Regions from separate parts of the Homo sapiens genome. Here region 2 is linked to region 1. The links are contacts of gene promoters, found by promoter capture Hi-C in human tissues and cell types (Jung and others, 2019). All regions are on one chromosome and are shown on one strand. The core of a region is centred on a gene start or on the middle of the fragment in contact, and the rest is flanking DNA. Distances in the headings are between cores, read along the strand shown.

What was found. The method cuts DNA at HindIII sites, captures the fragments that hold promoters and counts their contacts. A contact is called where the count stands out against the background at its distance.
Region 2: a fragment that was not itself captured here is called in contact with the fragment with the promoter of GJB5 in region 1 in 1 of the 25 tissues and cell types used here (spleen).

Annotation. Positions count from the first base shown.
Region 1 is chr1:34,751,225-34,757,338 of GRCh38, forward strand. It overlaps GJB5 (gap junction protein beta 5), which reads left to right and starts at 3,823. Exons shown (of 2, transcript NM_005268.4): 1 at 3,823-3,971; 2 at 6,083-6,114. The coding sequence starts at 6,107. The HindIII fragment of the contact is 2,696 bases long and covers 2,692-5,387 here.
Region 2 is chr1:34,709,802-34,715,887 of GRCh38, forward strand. LOC105378642 (a long non-coding RNA gene) reads right to left here. Exons shown (of 4, transcript XR_947174.3): 4 at 216-1,769. Among named protein-coding and RNA genes, the nearest start is that of GJB5, 42 kb to the right of the region's middle. RefSeq lists a silencer at 1-24. The HindIII fragment of the contact is 8,651 bases long and covers 1-6,086 here.

The DNA of each region.
Region 1 (6,114 bases), core at 2,573-5,072:
CATTCGTCCCAGAGGAAAAGCAAATGTCCACCCAACAGGTCAGAGAGCAACAGCCCACAGAGTGGAAGAAAATGAATGTGTGAGACATGCCAGCTGTAAATCACCATGTTTATATACATCCTCTCAAGCACTCCTCACAACAGCACCACCCGACCCCTTCCACATTCGAAAGAAAGGAAACTAAGGCTCAGAGAGAAAAAATGAGTTGACCAAGGCCACATAGTTAGGGAGCAGAAATGGGGTTTGAGCCCAGGTCTGTGTGGATTCTGCCCATCACACAACTCTTTCCCTGTTTTCCAGGTTTGCCTGTTCTCTGTCATGCCCACCTTCCACCCTTCCCACCTCCAGCTCCCTCCTGGATTTCCAGCATCCCCTGAGTCCCATCCCTCAGTAAAAGAACAGCCATGAAGCCTCCATTGAAACCTCTCACTTGATAATAAGCCCACTTTCATGATAACAAACCCACTCCCATGATAACGATGTTAATCCAACTAACCTAATTACCTCTTAAAGTCCCACCTCCCAACACTGTTGCATTGGGGGTTAAGTTTCAATACATGAGAGCATTGGGGGACACATTCCAAGCATAGCAGGGGGAGTGAGTGGGAAAAGTGGTGCATAGGTTCATCACAGATGTGTTTGGAGTTAATGAGTTCAGTGCTACGTGTGCTGAGTAAGAGCCACATGAACTATCCAGGGTCACGAGGTGGCAGCAATAGTTGGAGTCCTCAGCCCCAAGCTGGTGGTAGGAGCCACAGCCTGTGGAGAGTGCACTGAGAGAAGAGAATCCAGGAGAGCTCTGGAGAGTGCTGGCATTTTAGGAAGCAGGCAGAGGGTTACTGGCAGAGGAGAAAGCTCCAGGCCTCAATTTAAATCTTACACTTTCAGAAAGGCTTTCCCTGCTTCCTGAAACTAGGTCTGGTTCTCCATTATACATTTTCTTGGCACTGTGCTTCTCCTTTGTGACTCTATCACAATTGCATTTTTAGAGTTATTGGTGTGTGTGTGTGTGTGTGTGTGTGTGTGTGTGTGTGTGTGTTTAATGTCTTATTTCCTCCTTTGACTGTAATCTTCAAGAGGACCAGGCCCAGAGGTTGAACCATGAGAACCATGCTTACTGATTTATTTCCACTATCAGGCGCAACACGTGGCACATAGTAGGTGCTTAATGAATATTTGACGATGAGTAAATGATTCTGTTTATCAAGCATAAAGGAGCCGACAGTGTTGCCAAATCCTTGGGTATGAAGATGTTGAAGCATTACGGTGTTAAAAGCACTGGCTCTGGAGCTCAGCTACCTGAATTCCACCCCCAGCTCTCCTGATTACTGATTGTGCAAGCCCAGGCAAGTTTCTTAGCCTCTCTGGGCCTCAGTTTTCCCATCTGGAACATGGAGCCATTGGAGTTCCTACCTCATAGGGTTATTTCTATCAGTGGCCCAATCACCTATCAAATCACCAAAACCAGTGACCTATGAACCATCCTAGGTCAGCCTCCTGCCTCACATCCTACATCCAGTCAGTCCCCCAAGTCAGTCCCCCAAAGCTGCCAGCTGTATTTACCAGCTATTTCCCAAATCCAACCCTCTTGCTCATTTCTTGCCTAAATCATTGCAGTAACTTTCATACCGGTCTCACAAGCCCCTCCAGCCTCTTTTCTCAAACAGAGGAAGCTTTCTAAACATACAGTTGATCTTCATTATTCACAGATTCCGTATTGTGCATTCTCCAGCTCACCACAATTTATTCCTAAGCCAAAATCTACACTTAAGACACTTTCATGGCCATTTATAACATGCACAGAGTGGCAAAAATTTGAGTCTCCCAATGCACGTGTTCCCAGCTGTGGCTGAACAAGGTGACATTCTGCCTTCCCCTTTCAGCTCTAATGCTATAAACATGTTCTATTGGAGGTCTACTTGGTGCCATGTTTTTCTCATTTCTTGCTTTTTGCTGGGGATTTGCTGTTTGAAATGGCCCCGAGTACAGTGCTGAAGTGCCATCTAGTGTTTCTAAGCACACGAAGGCTACGATGAGCCTTATGGAAAAAATATGTGTGTTAGACAAGCTTCATTCAGTCATGAGTTATAGTGGTGTTGGCTATGAGTCCAATATTAATGAGTCAACAATATATATTAAACAAGGTGTCTTCAGAAACACACATAAAACAGACTTCTGTATTGATCAGTTGATAACCACATTGTAAACAGAAGCTTGCAGGAACCTAACCTCATATGTCCTCTAGGAAGAATGCTTCAATATTCACTAACTTGGTGCTCATGGTGACTCATAGACTATAACTACCTTGAATAATGAGAATCAAATGTACCAATCTGACCATGTCTCTTCCTTTTTCCTGCCTCAGCACAATACAAAATGTAAAAATAGAAAAAAGAAAAGAATTCCCTCATGCCTCCCTCTGCACCCAAGATAAATTCAAACTCCTTAGCATGACATTCCAGGTCCTTCATGGTCTGGAAGGTCTTTGCTGACCTTCCAGGCTCCTTGCCATGTGGTGTCCCCACCACTACCCAGCCCACTCTCCAATGCTCTTCCATTATTTTTCACAAAGGTCCTCTGCACGCTATGTGCCCACTGCCTCAAAGGCCCCTCCTCAGCATCTCTTCTTGGTAAACTCCTATACATCCTTCAAGACCCAGCTTAAATGTTACCTTCTCCGGCTCTCCCTCTGGCAGAACTTAAAACTCCCTTCTCTCTCTGTGTCTTTTCTAGGACTTCTCACAATGTTGTAACTGATCTCTTTATATGCCTCCTCTCTCCTGTACTTGGCAACAGCTTTTTGGAAAGAGCATGGAGTATAGAAATGTGTGACTCTCTGCAGGGTGTGTGCATTTCACACATCATTCATTCAATAAATATAAATTGAAGCCTAACTGGACAAGACACCAGGCACCATACTAGGCACAAGGGATAGAGCAGTGAATAAAATAAAGCCACTGCTGCATGTGTGTGCAACACTGTGCCCATAATTGTGGCCTGTGTGTAAGAGTATGCTCATGTGAAGCTACATTGTGTTTGCTTGTGGACATGAGGTGTTTGTGGCTCCTGGATGCTTTGTCTGTTGAATCCTGACCCCAAGTGACCTGCTGATACAGGGCACCTTGGAAGTCAATTAGGCCAAAAGACCGTGTCTGTGCACTAATGAGAAGCTTTCCCCAGGTGCCCCTGCCCACCTTCTCCACCTCTCCTGTGGTTCCTGCCTGGCTTGGGTTTGGCCTTTTTAACCCAAAGACAACATGCATCCAAATGAGATTTTCTCTAGTGCATACGTCTCTCTCTCCCTCCCTTCTCCTCTGCCTTCCCTGTATCTCAGAAAGAAAAGGCCTAGGAATAAGGAAAAGGAGGAGGAAGAAACATTTTTTTGAGGACATACCATGCGGCAGGCCTGTGCTGGGCAGTATACACGCATTATAGGCAATTGTAGACAGGGCTTCCCTTGTGTCAGGCACTGTTCTAAGCACTTCACCCCTAAGGCTGGGTTAATCCACGTATCCACCCTATGAGGTAGGTGTTGTTCTTTTCCCACTTTCACAGAGAAGGCAAGAAATCACACAGTGAGAAAGTGGCAGAGCTGGGATTCAGGCCTCAGCTTCTCCCACACAAGCCCACAGATGGGAGGATGAACAAGGAGTCAGAGTGGACCTGTGGCTCTCCCCTGAGAGGATACCAGGATTCGAGGCTCAGCGCCCTGGGAGGAGTGAACCCCTCAGTTTCCTGAGCCTCATCAGAAGCAGTCTGGGGAGGCTGGGGCCCAGCCAATGGCAGTGCAGGTCCCAGCTCCTCCTCCTCCCAGGCTGGGCCAGCACACCCGGCAGGCTCTGTCCTGGAAACAGGCTTCAACGGGCTTCCCCGAAAACCTTCCCCGCTTCTGGATATGAAATTCAAGCTGCTTGCTGAGTCCTATTGCCGGCTGCTGGGAGCCAGGAGAGCCCTGAGGAGTAGTCACTCAGGTAAGGGCATCTGTGTCCGCATGTGCCCTGCCCCTTGGCATACGTGGCAGGAGGACACTTCTCTGCTGGGGAGTGGTGGGATGTGGCCTGGACACATCTGCCACCCTGGGTCCTGATGGTGGAGGAATAAGGGGCTCTGGGTTCTTTCAGGTCTCCCCAGCCGGGCAAAGGTAGGAGCAGGGGCCAGGCCGGAAGCTCAGCAGGCAGGGTAGCTCTGCCTGGGCCTGCAAAGCCCTGCCCCACTCCTCCCCAAGTAGGGATGGGCTGGGTGAGAGCCCCTGGGGCTAAGGGCGGGGCCTTCCTGGGTGTTCCCTGAGAAGCTGCAGGAGTCCTACCTTAGACAGGACTGAGCATGCAAGATGGTGATTCAAAACAGAGCTCCCCCCAACCCCGGCCCCCACCTCCACCCATCCCCCGTCCAAGTGGCGCAGGTGGTGTGGAGACAGGGTGGTGGGCAAAGGTTCCCCCAGCCACCCTCATCCAGGATCCACACACAAGGGGAAGGACAGAATCCGTCTGCACACAAACAGGCAGGCAGCTCATTGAAACTTGAGGAAAGGGTCTGAGGCCTAAGGCTGGGCAGTTCCCGGAGGGTGGGCTCTAGAGCCAGCCTGCCTGGGTTCAAATCCTAGCTCTGCCACTTATTAGCTGTGTGACGTTGAGCAAGTTAATTAATCCCTCTGTGTTCCTCTTTCCTCATCTGTAAATTGGGAATAAAAAATATGCCCTTTCCTAAGGTTGCTGTGAAGGAATAATGTACTGATTCATACAAAGAACTTAGAGCGGTGCCTGGCACGGCATGAATGCTTCATGGATATTGGCTGTTATCACTACTCTGCTTTGCAGTTGATCATGCAGAGGCTCCAGAGAGCCTGGTGAGCTTCAGCCTGGACCAGCATGGGAAGGCCATCATGAGCCCTTTAGTGGCTAGGCAGACAGGTTCCTTGGGGTCCCAGGGTGCACAGTTGGTTGAAACCACAGTGCATGGGTCTTAATGGACACACCCCCATCTCCAGGAATCAGGCAGAGGACTCGCGGGTGAGGAAGTGGGGACCCCTTACTCTGCCTAGCAGTCACAGTCCTTACGCGGAGGTGAATCTGATTCTGTGAGTTCATCAGGCCAAATTCACCAGCAGAACTGACAGGAGCAGCATTTCCCACTTGATGTCTTGACAAGGCTGTTCCACAAGATGATAAATGTTATGTCAGGAGGAAAAGGGCTTCTGTGGGCAAATGAGTTTGGGCAATGCCACATATTTCATACCTCTTTTGGTGAATTTATTAGTGAGTTTATTAGCACGGTTGAGCAAAAGAACCCTATTTAACTTTACTAAACCCAATGTTTGCCAACTTTTCTTGACACAGAATCCTCTTCTCTCACTTCTCCTATTGCCAACCTATGGGACAGGGTTCCAGGGAACACTGTTTGGGAAACACTGGAATACCAGGTTACTCTAGGAAACCTACTGTATGAAGAGAATTTATTGCTGCCTGCTTTAGCTTTCAGCTGGATTGCATTGAGTGGCACTTGAGCAGGACTCTGCCTGGCTAATTACAGAGTGTTAGACCAGATGGGGGCTTGGGGACAAGGTTCCAGCCTCCTTTCCAGTCCCATCCCTGAGCCAAGAAAAGGACAAAGAGCAGGTTCCCCTGGGGAAGGGGCTGTCTGAGAAGAGGCAGCAGTGCTCAGAAAGGAGAGAACCATCTCAAGGCTCAGCCCCCCTGAGGAGGAGGGCCAGGGTTGAAACAGAGGGAGCAGGCAGAATGTCCCAGCTCCACCAGTCTTCACTCTGCAGAACCTCAAGACCAGAGCCTCAGGCCCGGGGAGGAATGAGTGGCTCCCTGGACCTGCCCTTATCCACTGGTATTGGTAAGAGCTGGGTTCTGGACTTAATTACCTATGCTCAAATCCCAGCCCTGCACCTAATAGTTGTGTAACCTTGTATATAATGCCACTAAACCTCAGCTCCCTCCCTCTACAAAATGGGGACAGTAGTAGAACCCAGCTCCTCTAGTGATGGTAAGGATGAAATGTGATGACATATTTCTACAAAGTGCTCAGAGCAAGTCTGTGATAAATGTAGGAAATGATTGTTCTTGTTTCCCTGCAGTAGCAGCTGACGCGTGGGTCCACCATGAACTG
Region 2 (6,086 bases), core at 2,772-5,271, 41 kb before region 1:
AAGATGGTCTAGATGTGGGGTGGAGACTCAAAGAATATTGCCATGGAAGTGGGGAGAGAAGAGAAAGAAGGGAAGAAATGAGAGAGGGGGATGGGTCGACTGCTGAATGAAGGAGAACACTATAGAAAGAGATGTTGACAGGGAGAGGGGTAGGAGGAATATTAATTAAGGTGCAGGACAAGCTGCTGTACCAATGAGACCCATAAATCCAGTGGTTTGAATAAAATAGAAGTTTATTTCTCTCCCACACAACAGGCCAGAGGGAGAGAGTGTCAAGAGCAGTTGCGGGCAGTTCTTTTCCTCAAGGTCTCAAGAGTTCTTCTGTCTGGTTGCTTGGCCATCCCATAGGATCTTGCCTTTGTCCATACAGCCACAGCAGCTCATCTCCAGCACTTCCAGTTCCACCTCATTGAAAGGAGGAAACAGACAATGTTCACTGCAAATAACTTCCATATAAGGATGTGCTCTGGAAATTGCACACATCGTTTTAGCAAGAACTGAGTAGACATCCACATCCAGCTGCAGGGAGTCTGGGAACTGTGGTCCTGAGCTAAATGATCATGTTCTTCCCTAAAATTCATGGCTCCTTGACTAAAAGGAAGGAGAGAATGGGCATTTGGGGACACTTAACAAGCTCGGCCACTAGGTTCTAGGAAGTTGTGGTAGGTGTTGTGCAGGTGACAGCACCCTCTACTCAGGTTGATCAACTAGGCTTATCCACATTAATTCCATGACCCAATCAAATGGATAATCTTAGAAGATCCTGAAGAATTTCAGGCTCTCGATTCACAATACTTCAGCTGCCACCTGCTTGCCCACTCAGGATCCGGCCTCGCAGCCCAGTTAATGCTGCGTGATTTGCTGGCTGTGTCCAACCCCCTTTGCTCCCTGCTTCCTGGCCAGTCAGCTTAGCCCTGGAAATGCACACCAGAACCAAGCCTAAAGGAGGAAATCATCACATTCAGATGCCTTGCATTATGTAGGTCATGATTCCCTTTCTTATTTTTAACCTCTCCCTAACCACTGATTTCCTTCTCAAAATGCTTTCCTTTGGCCTGGCTTCCACTTAAAGCTATCTCTCTTTTTTTCCTCTCTCCTTCCCTTAACCAACATAATCACTGACTTGTTCCCAAACCTTCTGCAAGCTGGCATCTGCCCCATCACTCAGATAAAACTGTCACTGAGGTCATTAAATTTAATGGGCTCTTCCCAGCCCTCTTCCTCCTCCACCTGGCTGGATCTCATTAGACACAATTGACCACCCCTTCCTAGAACCTTTACCTCCCTTTGCTGCTATGATGCACCACTACACACCTGCCCCCCAGCTGCTCCCTCCTTCCCTACCTCCCAGTCCTGGTCTGTGTCTTTCTTTCTGTGACTCCTCAAGAAACAAAGACCAAGGCAATACCTAAGCAGGAACAATCATCCTGTTAGCCTGGGTTAGTGGAAAAGACATAACCTGAGCTCAAATCTGGATTTGCCACTTACTTGCTGTGTGACTTTAGCAAGTTACTTAGTATCTCTGAGCCCATTTCCCCCAGGGAAAAATAGGGATAAGAATGCCCTTCTTTCAGGCTTGTGTTATCAGGCTAGACAACTGCCTAATAAACAACCCCCAAAACCTTAGTGGCTTAACAAATGTAACATTACCATCCAATGAAGTTGAGCAGGGGCAGGGAAATACCACACAAGATTATAGGGCAATTGGGTCCAGTGGCCCTACATTCCCTAGGGATCAGAATCCTCCACTAGATTTCTGTTTCCACGGCCTACAAAAAAAAAAAGAGTAAATGAGTATGTGTAGAAGATTGTTCGTGATATTTAGGGGGGGCCGGGCAGCCACAAAAGTGGCATATATTACTCCTACCCACATTCCATTGACCAGCACTCAGTCACATGATTCAACCTTACAGCAAGGCATGCTGGGAAATGTAGTTCCAGGAAGAAAAAAGATTTGATGAACACATAGTATCCTGTCTACCATATGGTTGCTGTGAAAATGGAAATAATAGAACTAAATCCTGTGGCATTTCTGGAACAGAGTAGGTGTTGAATGAATAGTCGCCATTAATAAGAAAAAAATTAGAATTTTTTTTTTTAATGTTTGCCAACTTTCCCAAGTGCAGACATCAGCTGAGATAAATAAGAAGACAAAGGGAGCAGAGACAAAGAGAGAAACAACTGTTGTAAACAGGAATGAAAGTGCAGGCCAGGTTTGGGGAAGCAGGGATAAGCACAGAAGCAGGCAGAGAGTGGGCAGAGGGCTCACCGGGAATTGAGCACCATGGTACTCAGCACAGCCTCTGCTTTCCCGGCCAGCCCTGGCTCCCACCTGAGCCAGAAGGGGCTTAGAAAGATCTGAGTTTCCTTGGAAACCATTTTTCTGGCCCTCTCTGCACGTTATCAGCCAAGTTGGTTGTAATCAAACCCCCACGGGGCAGAGAATGAGCTCTCAAACTGCAGTCCTGGGGTTCTATCCAAATTGCTTGCATTTCCTATTTAAATTGGTAATTTCCCCATGAGTGTACCCCCTGCCCATCCACAGATTTGTTGGGAAGGGGAAGCTCTGGACGTACTACCCACCCCCCACCATCACCTCCTGCCCCTGACACAGCACAGGGGCCTTGGGAGTGCCTCCAAACAGCCCGGAGTCCTCTGCCAAAGCTGAAGGCCTCTGGCAAGCCCAGGCCTCCAGAACAGCCAGGTCAGAAGCTCCTCCCTCAGGCCCCCCTGTCCCACTAAAGACAATGGCCTGGACATGAGCAGGAGAGGAGGAGGACCTACACAGGCCACAGTAGGCGAGTCCTGAATAGTTGGCATCATTGCCAGACTAAATGTGGGGGTGTGGACTTCCTCTTGTACCTTTTGCAGGTACACCCTTTCCAAAGTGAAGGGTGGGGACTGGGCCAAGGCACCAGATAATCTTTTTCTTTTCTTTTTTTTTTTTTTTTTTTGTTTGTTTGTTGTTTGTTCGTTTGTTTTTGAGACCAAGTGTCACTCTGTCACCCAGGCTGGAGTGCAGTGGTGCAATCTCGACTCACTTCAGCCTCTGTCTCCTGGATTCAAGTGATTCTCCTGCCTCAGCCTCCCAAGTAGCTGGGATTACAGGCACGTGCCAGTACACCTGGCTAATTTTTTTATTTTTAGTAGAGATGGGGTCTCACCATGTTGGCCTGGTCTCAAACTCCTGACTTCAAATGATCTGCCCGCCTCGGCCTCCCAAAATGCTGGGATTACAGGCATGAGCCACCACGCCTGGCCAGATAATCTTGAAGTACTGACAGCCAAGGCTGCAGGACTAGGGAACAGCTGGGGAAGTCTCAGAATGTTAGGCAGAAAGATCCCAGAAGTTCAGAGGGGCACTCACCTTGACTCCCTCTGTCACAAGCCAGCCCTGACCACAGTGTAACTACAAAAAGGGAGAGTGGGCCCATGTCCCCTTTCCTTTCAGAATGGGCAGAAGATTCACATCAGACATGGTCAAATACTCCCAGACACACACTTAGCCATATTATACACATGTACACGTGCATACATACATATTAGAGAGGTTTGTGCGTGTGCGTAGACACATACCTGTGTACTTGAGGACATGCAATGTCATTCATACTGATCCCCCTCCTAGCATCCCAGCAATGTTCATGATGTATCTGGGCATATTCACAAACACGCTTCAGAACTGGGCTGAGAACTCAGTGCACGCCTGCACGGGACAGCCTCAAGGAACATATGTGCATGCTGACACAAGTCCAGCTGGCCGTCCTGGCATGATCACTGACTGACACATGTACTCAGACACACACATATAAGACTGAGGAAAAGGCAGAACCAGGCTGGGAGATGGACCCTGCTTTGCAGGTGGCTAAGTAGGGAGCAGCGTGTATTCCAAATTACTAGACAGCTCCAAGGAGATGAGGCCAAATTGGGTCTAATCCGAGGCTGCATCTGGAGTCCAGTCTGGACAGTAATTCATGTAGTGTCTTCATGGGTGGGGTTAGGGCCTTCATGGGGGAAGTAGGCTCCCAGACTGCAGTGGAAAACACAGACCAGGAGCAGCCCGTGGAAGAGGCCTTACTCCCAAAGGGGAAGCTGGATGTCAGGTTCTTATCCCAGTGCAGAAGACTAGGTAAAATCAGGAACCAGCCACTGGCCTGGGAACCTACAGTGAGGGGAGAGACCAGGCTGATGGGCTCTGGGTGTCCATAGCTCCCCAGCTCTCAGATCCTGTATTCAGGGAGACACAACTGGTACCAGGCCCACCCTCTGCCATGCTGGCTCCCCTCTCAGAGCCAGGCTAGGTCAGGAAGAGCTCAGGGACTTGGTAGGCAGAGCCTGGTGGCAGAGGACTATCAGTATCTATAGCAGAAGGGACTGAGGAAAGACAGGTCAGACACCCCAACTCCTGAGCCAGCCAGAACCTAGAATCTATTGTTCCCGCTGTTGCCAGGAAAACAACTGGAAGACTCAATCTCCACCTCCAGAACCTGCCTTCAGCCCCCTACCTCCACCCCAGCTGTAAGGGTCTTGGTCAGTCATATTCTGAGTTCAAGAGTCCTTCATCTCCCTTCCCACTGCAGTGAAGCCAGGAGCTGGGCTGTGCAACTGAGAGGAGTGGGGAGCAGGTATTCGGTTCTGATGCCCAGAGTGGCTGTCCCCACCATTTCTCCTTCTGCCCCAGCACTGAAAAGAATCCTGCAGAGCTTCACAGCCTGTCTGCTCCTTTCTAAACAGACAGGTGTAAGAGAGCTGAGAACTCCAGTGAAGCAGGCACAGCCAGCTGTCTGCAGCTGCAGCTTTCCACATTTCCTAGCAGAGTCAGCTGCGGAAGGAGAGACAGGAAGGGTGAAATTTCTAATCACTTGGAGTTTCCCTACCACCCAGCAGCTCTCTCTCTCTCTCTCCTTCCCTCCCTCCCTTCGTGTATGCTGCTCTGTATGTCTGGTGTCCTTCTACCTCCTTGTCTCCTGGAAGACTCTTATTTAACTTTCAAAACCCTGTTCAGGTATCCCCACTGCTTTGAAATCTTTCCCTAGCACTCCCTCTGTTTGACTAATTATTTACTCCTTTCTCCAGGCTACCTGCATTTATAGCTTGTGTTGTGATTATCTGTTCATACCAGGATAATCAGGGATGCCTGGGATGCCGGGATGCCTGACTTCTCCACTTGACTGTGAGCTCCTTGAAGGTAGGAGCTTGGTGACACTTGTCTCTGTACCCCAGCACCACTACAGGGTTTCAGAGAACACGTCGAGGAGAAGGAGTGTGATATAGCAGTTAAAAGCATGGGCTCTGGAATAAGCCAGACCTGAGTTTGAACCCCAGGTCTGCCTCTTCTAGCTGTGGGAGTTGGACATATTGTTTCAGCTCTCTAAGCCTCAGTTGTTCCAAATATGACATGGGAAGAATAGTAATGACTGTCTCATGGATTGTCATGAGTAATCAATGATACAATGAATATGGAGAGGTTAGCCCAGTACTGGGCACATTAATAGCCTTTCTTATCATCCCACCAGCATCTGGGCTGTCGATTCTATGTTGAGTCATCATAGTGACTCCATATAGCCCGTACCCCTGGAAATCTCACCAGCAAATGAATAATGACAATCAACAATGATGAGTTCCATGACAAAACTCTGGGGCCCTGGGAGCCTAGAGAAGGAACCACTAACTTCAGTGGCCATGCGATCTAGTGGTTAAGTGTATTGGCTTTGGTGTCAGGAAGTTCCAAGTTCAAATCCTAGCTGAGACTCTAACTAGCTGTGTGAACTTAGGTTAAGTTATTTAAACACTCAGAAACTCTGAAATGTGATGGAAATTTAATAACACAAAGATATAAATAATACAAATTTGACAAAAAATCAAATTTGTCAGGGGATAAGCAAGGAAGACTTCCCAGAAAACGTGACGTCAGGCCTTAATGAATGAATAGAAGTTTTCTAGGTGAAGAGTGGAAGCGAGGGCTTTTCCAGCAGGAGCAGCACTTTCAAAAGCTGGTGAATCCAAAGGACAATGAGATGTTTAATGATCCCAGATCCCGTGTATGAGGGGGAAGTGTCTGAAGAAGGCCCACAAAGAGAGACAAGGGC